Regions from separate parts of the Homo sapiens genome. Here all the other regions are linked to region 3. The links are contacts of gene promoters, found by promoter capture Hi-C in blood cells and fetal thymus (Javierre and others, 2016). All regions are on one chromosome and are shown on one strand. Each heading gives the region's core, a stretch centred on a gene start or on the middle of the fragment in contact. The rest is flanking DNA. Distances are from core to core; before and after follow the strand shown.

Region 1 (2,700 bases), core at 200-2,699, 2.4 Mb after region 3:
GTGTCCTGGATTGACTCGAATCTAAACCACTCTTATTATTTGTGGCTTATTAAAGAGGCCAATATAGACTGATGGTCCTCCTATGGCCACAAAGAGATCACGGCAAAGTTGCAAGAAAGGATTCTGAGCTTTTGTAGCCTTCTCAGAAGTCCCCAGACCAAGAACTACTCCTTGGGCATAACAGGTGGCAGACAGCAAGAGGTAAACCTTTTGAGTGGACAGAGAGCCTTTATGTGAAATAGAGTTACAAATATAAAAAGACAAAAAAAAATCCTGCCCACTTGTGGAACTTTGAGCAATTAATTTAACATGTTGAAGCTCCATTTTATTACCCATAAAAGGAGAATGATATTGCAGCATTATCACAATAGTCAAGCTTTGGAATCCACCTAACTGTCCATCAATGGATGAATGGATAAAGCAAAAATGTGGAGAGTAGAATGGTGGTTACCAGGGGCTGCCTGAAGGGTTACTGGAGAGGCTGATCAAAGAATATAAAATTTCAGCTAGATAGGAAGAATAGATTCAAGAGATCTACTGTATAATTTGGTGACTATAGTTAATAACAATGTATTGCATACTTGAAAATCACTATGTGAGTAGATTTTAAGCGTTCTCACCACAGAAAAAGTGGGGGTGGGGAGCAGATAATAATATTTACCCTTCATGCTTTTGTGAAGACTTAACAATGTAACCTGAGTATTGGAATTCAATTGTGCTCAAAACCTGACTGCCACTTACTTGGACATGAATGATCTTAAGCAAATTATTCAGCCAGGTTAAATATCACATTAAGTTTTCTTACCAATAAGATGAAATATTAATAGTCATTTAACAGCATAATCCAAATGTGCCAGGATGCCTATGACAAGGTCCCTCTGTTTTCTTTCTTTTTTTTCTTTTTTGAGACAGAGTTTTGCTCTTGTTGCCCAGGCTGGAGTGCAACGGCGTGATCTCAGCTCACTGCAACCTCTGCCTCCAAGGGTTCAAGAGATTCTCCTGCCTCAGCCTCCCAAGTAGCTAGGACTCCAGGCGCCCGCCACCACACCTGGCTAATTTTGTGTATTTTTAGTAGACATGGGGTTTCACCATATTGGCCAGGCTGGTTTCAAACTCCTGACTTCAGGTCATCCACCCGCCTCGGCCTCCCGAAGTGCTGGGATTACAGGTGTGAGCCACCGCGCCTGGCCGGTCCCTGTTTTCACCCCGCATTCACCTAAAAGCAGGTCTCAGATTTTTAATTCAGCCCACCTAAATAAATCTATCTCAGCAAATTTAAAGAAAAATTGATATTTTATTAAAGACTTTGTGATAAGATATAAAATAGGTTCTCATCACAAAAGAAACTTAAATATATATTATCCATTAGATAGCTCCAGTGGTGTGCTGGTAAATGTTCAACAACTGACTCTTAAAGAAAAACGCATGCATTTATATACATACATATTTATTATAAATTTTTCTGATATAAAAGATTGTTACACACAATTTACTATTTGTAAATTTTACTATTGGTTCCTACAGACTGCTTTCATTGATTTTTGCAGAACTTTTGCAATCCATAGCCAACCTATGGTTCCGGCTGAACTGATTTGACAAATGGAGTTATATACCCATTTATTTTCTAATAAATCAATAACGTATTGTTATTGGATGTAATATGTAATCTATTATTAAAGTATTTGTCACCCTATTATATAATGAGTGTAGTACAGGCTATAGTCATTAAATTAAAACCTAGTTTTAGCACTAGATATATTGTTCATCAATGATGTGAGTGAGATTTTTCCTGAGTCAGAAAATAGTTTTCTAATATGTACTGAAATAATATTTTCTCAATTTGGGGGGCTATTCCCAATGTAATGGATATTAGCACCACACACTTTTAAGTTTATTCTGCATTATTTTGACATTTTCTTCATTACTTTCTTAAGTCTAATCAACTGATGAAACAATAAATAAAGCCCTGATTTGTATGTAAATTTTTGCCTGTATATTTTTCTTTCCTCATGGACTTGGGAAATTTTCTATGATCCTCATGGCTTTGCAGCTACTTACTGTATGCACCCTCACCTTGTTTGCAGCATTATCAGCTCCAGGACAGCCGAAATCCTTCTTGGTTCTTTCATACTATCGCCCACTGTGTCTAAAGTAGATTTTAAGTTAGTGTTACTTGAATTGCAAGTACTACTACCACTGAAGCAGCAACTCTGTTTCCATTGCTTGGGGAGAAGACCAAAAACACACATTAAACACCTGGAGAAAAAAAGTAAAACCACATTAAAGTGAGATTGTAGGAACTGACCAGAAATTTAGAAAAGAGAAAAACTCACTGCTGTGTGAAGAAGTCAAAGGAACTTCATGTTGACTTGAACAAGAAATTAAAGGAACCCCGGGCCTTGGCCTAAGGACAGACTGGAAATGGTGGTTTGGAGAGAAGAAATGAGGACAAAGGGAATGTGTGAGGAACAGTGGAAGGTAAAGTTGGCTGGATAAAATGAGACTTCAAAATGCCAGTTTGCGAAGCTTGAACTTGGTGCAATAAACAATCAAAGGCCATTTTAGATGTATATGAAAACAAATGGCATGGAAATGATATTGAAGCAGAAATCTGGTAGCATCCCCAGAACAGGAATTTCAGAAACTATTGCAGTGGCTTAGGTTTAAAAGACAAGAAACAACAAATGATCAGTTCCCCAG
Region 2 (2,700 bases), core at 7-2,506, 2.4 Mb after region 3:
TGCCCAGCAGATGATTACTGAATGATTAATAAAACTACTCACTCCACCTGCTGCTTTTAAATGGGCTCCATTTTGGTATGATTTGGTGCGTGAACCATTAAAACTTTTCAGAAGTCAGGATTTGAAACAAACTTGGTAAAAAGTAGTTAAGCAATGTCTTCGTTGTAAAGTGAGAAACCAAGTTGCTTGGAAACAGGTGAAAAGCTTAGCCAGCAGCTTCACAATTCACAGCCTGGCACTCCAGTAGCCCTCTCTGGACAATTGCCCAGGTTTTCTTGTTTTCATTTCTGTGTTTTAATTTACAAGTTACCTTTATATTTCTACTAATACCTTACTGGCACTTGTTTGTGAATGAAACAATTTTTTTGAGAGTTTGTTAATTGTTCTGTGTGAGTGTGGAAAGTTTCTTTCATATAAGATCATCAATTCTTTTTTTAAAAATAGTGTTTTAGGTTTTCTCCTACATAAAGAAAGTGGTGGGGGTGAGGAGCTGGGGGTGGACCAGATGCTCACATTGTATTTCTATGATTTTGCTGTTGGAGATACTGAAGATCATTTTGCTGGGCTTTGCTCTCTTAAATTACAGAAAAGTGCATTTGGTGAAGTTTAGTGTTTTTAGTAAACATATACAAGATGTCATAGGGATAGAATTAGTGAAGGAATAGGGTTCGTGAATGAATGAGCTCAATCTTAGTAATGAAATGTTTGGAAAGCAACAGAACAAGAGAGAAAGAGCATCAGAACATGATTTAGGTACCCCATACATTTATACAAATAAAAAAAAGATCTGATTTAGGGTCATAGAAATCACATACCTAAACTGATGGTTAAACAATAAGTGGCAAGTAACAGTTTAGCTACAAAAAATGTACAGGAACACATAAGGAAAGTTACATGGGAACTTTCAGAGAGGACCAAAAAAGGTGGAATAAGATTATCTGCTCTGTTATGATCCCCTGTATTTCTCTGCTCTATGTTCTTCTCTTGGGCAGTCTTTTCCTGAGATGTTTTCATGTTATTAATCAAAAATAATAGAAACGAATAAACTAGATCAATGCATTTACAAGATTTTTTGAGTGCCTGCAGTATGCCTCGGTGTGGTGGGAACTTGGTGTACTGAGGTGAGTAGCATGATCCTGAAGAGCTTAGGAATCACTGAGTTCTCGTAAGTGCAATAGAAGAAAAACTGGTAGAAGGAAGTCAAATGAAAATACAAGTTTCTAAAGAAAATAAGTATTTACAAAGGAATTTGTCTGCATTAATTTCTGTGGAAAAGTTAGCTATGTATAGAAGAAAGAAACTTGTTAGTAATTCTTTCATTCATTCATTTATTCATTCAACAGTGAATCCCTGCCATGGTAGTACTAACTACTTGCACTGTGGTAGTGCAAGGGATACATTTGCTGTGCAAGTAGTTAGGAATTTTTTTTTTTTTTTTTTTTTTTTTTAGTGCTTTGTGTATGCTAGGCTTTATGCAAATATACAGCCAAGCACAGAGGTTAAGAACTTTGGAATCAAACCGAAGTGGTTCTAGTCCCAGCTCCCCCTTACAAATTGTGTGATCTTCAACAGTTCATTTAACTTCTCTAGATCTCAGATTTTCTCATCAGTAAAATGAGTGCAGTAAGAGTACCACCCTCACAGCATGAAATCAGATTTTCTGTACTCTTTACTAACTCACTTTCCATGACGCTGGCATGTGGCAAGTGCTGACTCAATACTGGCTCATTTCCTTAACTGCTTTTATTTTATTCATTCACTGCCATTCCAGAGGAAACTGCGGTTCTGAGATGTGCCCTGGGTCACTGCTGAGGAGCGGACGGAGCCTGGGAGGGAGCTACCCCTGCCTTGTTTCCTCACACTTTATGGGGTGGGTGTCAGGAATGAGGCTGGAGGGGAAGGCAAAACCAGATCCCTAAGAGCCCCCTGGACCCTGCTTAGGGTGTTTACTTCTATCATAAAGGCTGTGCTTCTGTAGAGACCTAAGGCAGAGAGTGCCAAGGTCAGGTTTGCATTTGAGAAAAGTTTTTCTGGCAGCAATATAAAGAATAGTTTAGCAAAAGAAATGAGAATAGCTGGAAACCCAGTTAGGAGGCTGTGGTAGTCCAGGAGCACACTAAGGCAGCAACAATAGGTGGATGGAAACTGGAGCATTTAGGTAAGGGAGAGGGATGCCAGAGGACGTGATGGTGAGGGAGAGGGAAGAGGGTGGGACTCCACCGCACCAGGGCTTCTGGCTTTATTGACTGGGTATATGGTGGCATCCTGGGCCAAGACAGTGAGTCACAGGGAAGAGGCTTTGAGCCTGGTAAGCTTGGGACACTTTTGAGACATTGGGAGGAAATGACACATGGCAGTTGACATACAGATCTAGACGTCAGGAGAAAAGTCAGGGCTGGAGATTTTCGGTTTACAGTTGAAGGTATGAGTAGGAATGAGATCATTTACTCAGTCCATCCCACCACATTGAGCACCATGAATAAGGGGCTCCTCTCCCCATGGGGCAAGAGAGGTGAAAAGACAGTCAAAGTCACTACTTTCAGGAGGATTAGGCTCAAGTTAGGATGGGGAGGTGGAGAAGGCATCAAACAAATAAATGAAAACTATAACTTCAGTTATTGCCAAGTGCTAGGAATATAATGTTGCTGTTAAACTGCAAGGTGGCTAACAAGTTGGATAGTCTTTCTTGAAGAACTGTAG
Region 3 (2,700 bases), core at 23-2,522:
CTGCATGAGAGGAAGGGAGGGTTTGTTGTGTGTGTGTGGTTTTTGTTTTATTTTGGTAGGGTTTGGGTTCCTAATTACTCTACAAGGTGCACCAGAATTGGAGATATTTGTCCAAATTCATAAATTTTGAAAGAGAAAAAGAAATACATTCAGAGTACTATTATTCCCATTTCAAGATTGAAGAAATTCAGATTAAATTATTCTAATTTCGTGAGGAAGCTAGCATTTGAACTCAGTTCTCACGCCATATTCCAAATTGCCACACCAGATATCTGGCAGATTTAGGGAAGAGGAAAAAATTAAGCATCAATCTACCTGTGGCACCGTGTAATACCATTCTCAGGATTTTAACTTCTAACTTACTCTCTTTGAAACAGCGATCACAAAGGAATAGACAAGGGGACCACAAATCATTAAAACTGCTGTCAAACAAAATAGAGAACATTTTTCCTAAAAGTTATTTGTGTAGCGAATAACAAGTTTGACGTTCTCACTGGAAGGAAGAATATGAATAAATGAACGAGCTCCAGTAAGAAGTCTACAACCTGTCTTAGTGGTTCACTAAACTCACGTTTATTGAATGATTGTGTGGTTTCTCTGCAAAGAGCAGTTTTGGACGAAAAGACCCGAGGTTATTTACAAAACAAGAAGCTCACATAGGAACTGATCCAGTAAGGAGGATCCCGAAGAGAGACAGACAAATCATTTTTTGCATTGTTTTGTTGGAAACGCCGGGCACTGCCAACAGTGTTTTACATCACTGTTCCTCAAATTTTAATGTGCATTTGATTCCTGGAAATCTTGTTAAAATATAAGTTTTGATTCCATAAGTCTGGTGTGGAGCTGAGACCCTGAATTTCTAAAAAGCTCCCCAAAGATACCCACACTGTCAGTAGGGGTGGGAGTGGCGGAGCCGACTACAGGGGAAAGCTTCACTTTGAGTGATCGAGAGGCTCTACGCAACTGGAAAGAAGAAACTCAAAATCCCTCGTACAGAGAGAGACTCACCAGCCCCCGACCCCCGGGCAGCAGTAAAGCGAGCTGGGCACTGCGCCTAGAATCCCAGTTCTTACCCCAGGATCAGAAGCGCGCTCTGCAGCTGTCCCCGCACCTCCAGAAACACGCGCGTCTCCGCCGCAGAAGCCGCCATGGCAGGCTTCCAGTCCCAGACCGGACCAAGCTGGAGGTTCCGAGGGGCCCGGGTCAACAGGACCAGGAGAGGTTCCACGTGCGGACCAACCAGCGGCAGCCCCGCTGCGGCGCAGGCGCCTGTGCCAGATCGCAGGGCTGGCGCCGCCTACCAGCTCACAGCGCCACCTGCCGGCCGGAGAGTGCACCACCGAGAAGGCGCGTGACCCCGGAGGCCGGGGCGGGGCGCGCATTTTCAAAACCAGGCTTTGGCCCAGAGTGCTGAGAAAGGTGGGCGGCGAGAGGCTAGCTATCGCCCCACTCTGCTTCTTATGAGCGTGACTTGGCGCGTTAGCATCCCTGGAAATGACCATAAAAATCAGACCCAGGGTTCACACCTTTGGCTAGCTCGAAGGGAGGGAGATGATGGAGGCAAGTGTTACAGGTGGGCTTTGTCCCCAGGAGATGCAAGAACAGAATTCCCGGCCCCAAACCCACTTTATCTTGGTCTCTTTATGAACAAGGGTCGTTTGTTAGCCTCTATCTAAAGCGACAAAATTTTCAAGAATTGACTTGCCATTGCTTCTCAACTTAGACAGGATAGCTCCAAAATTGAAACAGGTGCAAAAATATAAGGAAGTTCTTTGTTACCTAATGCAGAAGAGTGTGGCTGAAGTCTATCAGGACTAACCATTTTTTAGGGGGTAAAAAAGGAAGATGAGAATGATTACGTATGTACAGCTCCACTATTCACTTTCACAAAAGTAAAAACTAAGAGAAGTTGGAGAAGTTTACTACCAGAAGATAGTTTTGAAAAGTTTGACACAGTAAAGAACCTGGTATAATGTAAATACTTATAATGAAGAACTATTAAAATATAAGACCGGGTAGAATTACAATAGGGCTTCTTAAAAACAAGGAGCTGCTTTTATTTATTTATTTTTTTTCGGAGTCTCGCTCTGTCGCCAAGGCTGGAGTGCAGTGGCGCGATCTCGGCTCACTGCAACCTCTGCCTCCTGGGTTCAAGCGATTCTCCTGCTTCAGCCTCCCGAGTAGCTGGGATTACAGGCGCACGCGCCACCATGCCCGGCTAATTTTTCTGTTTTTGGTAGATCCGCCCACCTTGGCCTCCCAAAGTGCTGAGATTACAGGTGTGAGCCACCATGCCCAGCCTAAACCATAAATAAATTCTAAATAAATAAATCCTGTCATATATTTTAAGATAATAGCTTGACAATTTTTCTAAAATCAGTATTTGGGGTGATTAAAGTTTATTATGTTGATGCACAAATTATTATATCTATCACAATAATTTGAAGTTATAGATGGAAGCAACAACTCACTTAAAAAAATAAAGTTTACTATTATTTGGTCTCAAATAATTCATCTATTTGAAGGATGATGATTTCAACTCTTCATATCTTCCACCTTTAGTACCCGAGGCTATTGAATGCTTAAATATTGACACATTATATTGAAATATACAACTTCCGTAGCACAACTTACTCTTTATAATTGTTTTGTTAGCTTAAAAGATTTTTATATATTTAGTTACGTATTTGTAAAAACTTT
Region 4 (2,700 bases), core at 37-2,536, 3.0 Mb before region 3:
CGTGTATGTTGGTACTCTGTTGTTAGGTGCATATATGTTTAAAATTGCTTATATTTTCCTTATGAATTGACCCTTTTGTCTTCATAAAAGTATCCTTCTTTATCTGTAGAAACCGTATTTTTGTTTTAAAGTCTATTTTTTTCTAATATTAGTATAGCCTCTCTACCTTTCTCATGGCTGGTGCTTGCAAGATATATCTTTCTATTCTTTTACGTTTAAGTATTTGAATCTAAAGTGTGTCTTCTGTAGACAGCATTTATTTGGATCTTGATTTTTCATCCAGTTTAACAATCTCTGCTTTTTATTGTCTATGTTCTTTTTTTACCTCTGTTAAAATGATTACTTTTTCCATTTACCTCTGTTAAAATGATTACTTTTTCCTTTTTCAGTCTGTTGATATGGTGAATTGCATTGCTTGATTTTCAAATGTTAAATCAACCTTACATTCCTATGAATTCTTATGTCCATTTGGCCTTGTTATACTGTTATTTTTATATATTGCTTTATTATATTTGCTTTTTTAAAGATTTTTGCATCTATCCTCATGAGGAATATTTGTAGTTTTCTTTTCTTATAGTGTCTTTATCTGATTTTAATATTAGGTTAATATTATCATAAAATGAGTTGGAAAATATTACCCTCTCTTCTATATATTGGAAGATTTTTTTATATAATTGGCATTATTTCTTACTTAAATGTTTGGTAGAATTCACCAACGAAGCAATCTGGGCTTGAAGTTTTGTTTGTTGGGACATTTTAAGGTATAAATTTAGCTTCTTTTGTAGATTTAGGACTATTCAGATGATCTTTCTGCTCCAAATAAAGCTTTCTCTAGACTCCCTCTACCTGTGTGAGCCAAATGTTGTCTGTTTATTTTTCATTTTCCCATAAATTTTTAGTTTGTAGATGTCTCTGTCCTAACTATGCTGTATATGTAAAATGTGTGTGTTTAATTTGCTCCCCTTTACTCTTTCTTTTTAAAAGAGAGGATATAAGAATATTCAACTTTACCACCATTTTCTACAGAAATTCCTAAGTATATTTAAGTAGTCTTCTAGTGGCAATTTTCCAGTCTATGTTGAAGAATTCAGAGGAAGTACTTTCATAGTGGGTTTTTTTCTTTTCTTTTTTTTAATGACTAGAGGGACCACATGGGTACTTCCTGGGCAGGATAACTATATAGTCATTAGGTCTTTTTTTGGCTTCCAAGCATCAATTCTCCCTTTGGTTGGTAGCAGTCCCTTGAGTTATGTCTGGGAAATCTTTTTTACTTTGTATATAGTCTTGGTCAGTAGGATACCCTACTGTTCCTTAGTCAAGGGATAGTAATGAACTAATCTAAGCTAGTCAGATTCTCTCTCCTAAAAACTGAATCTTGAGCAGAATCACATAAAGACATTGGAGCCAATTCATCCTATGAGTTTTAATATTCTCACACATTTCTAAATTAACTCCTGTTACCTGAATCTCTGGGGCCATCCTGGTTTCTGTTCTTTCTGAGGCTGCTTTTTTTCTTCAATTTTTGTGGGCCATCCTGTATTTTGAAAAGTAATCATAATTCTGTGTAAGTTAGCAAGAAGTGATTTCAGTAGTTGTGACCTAATAACCCTACTTAATAAAAGAGTGAGTGGGGAAAGGTGGTAGCTGTTCTTTTCTGGACAGAGAACACAGTGTATATAAAGGCTGTTTGTTGTTTATAGGGTTTGTGTGATATGTGGACTATTTGTATCAAAGACACTGGATGGGGGAAAGCTTATTAGAAATGCAGATAGTCTACCCTAGGCCTACTGAATAAGAATTTCTCAGCGTGGGGCCTAGAGAATCTAAAATTTGAACAAGTTTCTCAGGGATTACTCTGAGAAATAAATTTGAGAAACACAGCATAAGACCACACATTTTGAAATATGAAAAATACAGACTGGAAAACTTTAAACTGCTTAAACTCAGCTTAGTCAGTTTAATCTCTTTGATCCTGTTTTCTCATCTGTAAAGTGACTGTAGCAAGACCTTGTCATCAAGTTGTTTTAAGAGATTAAAATGTGCATAGAAAAGATTTTGGTGTTTCTTCAGTAGAGGAGAGTTGCATCAGTTTTAAGTGTTTAGATTCCAAAACCTAAGTGCAAGATAAAACTTGTGACTAGCTAAAATTACAGTTGACAACAGTTTAAATCCACAATAATAATGTGTAGCTACATTTATGCATCATGTTGTAGAAAAATGCACTTTTAGTAACTATATTACTGAGAATGTTTCCTGAAGAGTTAGGATATGTTAGAATAGCTGAACACCATGTAAAGTAGGTTTGTGATTAGAAGCCATGTTCTATTTTTAAAAGATAAAAATATACACTGTTAAATTGTTTCTCAGTCATGCTCCAGGTGAAACAAGTATGGAAGAAGGACAGGTGATTCTCCATGTAGTGTCATTCCAGTAACAGCTTATGGATGCTCTAGTTTCTGAAATGTTACTACCTGATGAGGCACAGGAAGAGAACTAGAGAAATGGCTACCAGGTGCTAAATTCTTCCACCCAAGAATGCCCGTCTGTACTTGTGGTCAAATTCATTGACTGGCAAATCAAGACACATTGCTATGCCTGATTTCAGGTGGCTAGGGAAGTTCAATCTACCTGAGTTCCTAAAAGCAGAGGGAATAGAAACATTTGTATCAACACTGTTTTCCACATGGGGTCTGGATATTA

Evidence for each region. Contacts are between HindIII fragments. The CHiCAGO score rates a contact against its expected background, and 5 or more counts as called.
Region 1: a contact is called between a fragment that was not itself captured here and the fragment with the promoter of UBE3D in region 3, in 1 of 17 cell types (total B cells). The highest score is 6.2, in total B cells.
Region 2: a contact is called between a fragment that was not itself captured here and the fragment with the promoter of UBE3D in region 3, in 1 of 17 cell types (naive CD8 T cells). The highest score is 5.1, in naive CD8 T cells.
Region 4: a contact is called between a fragment that was not itself captured here and the fragment with the promoter of UBE3D in region 3, in 1 of 17 cell types (fetal thymus). The highest score is 7.2, in fetal thymus.

What each region holds. Positions count from the first base shown.
Region 1 is chr6:85,445,652-85,448,351 of GRCh38, forward strand. No RefSeq gene overlaps it. Among named protein-coding and RNA genes, the nearest start is that of NT5E, 3.1 kb to the right of the region's middle. The HindIII fragment of the contact is 2,150 bases long and covers 375-2,524 here.
Region 2 is chr6:85,462,646-85,465,345 of GRCh38, forward strand. The region is part of intron 1 of NT5E (5'-nucleotidase ecto); the gene reads left to right. Among named protein-coding and RNA genes, the nearest start is that of NT5E, 14 kb to the left of the region's middle. The HindIII fragment of the contact is 2,109 bases long and covers 203-2,311 here.
Region 3 is chr6:83,064,569-83,067,268 of GRCh38, forward strand. It overlaps UBE3D (ubiquitin protein ligase E3D), which reads right to left and starts at 1,273. Exons shown (of 10, transcript NM_198920.3): 1 at 1,074-1,273. The coding sequence starts at 1,150. The HindIII fragment of the contact is 10,412 bases long and covers 929-2,700 here.
Region 4 is chr6:80,096,585-80,099,284 of GRCh38, forward strand. No RefSeq gene overlaps it. Among named protein-coding and RNA genes, the nearest start is that of BCKDHB, 8.7 kb to the right of the region's middle. The HindIII fragment of the contact is 927 bases long and covers 824-1,750 here.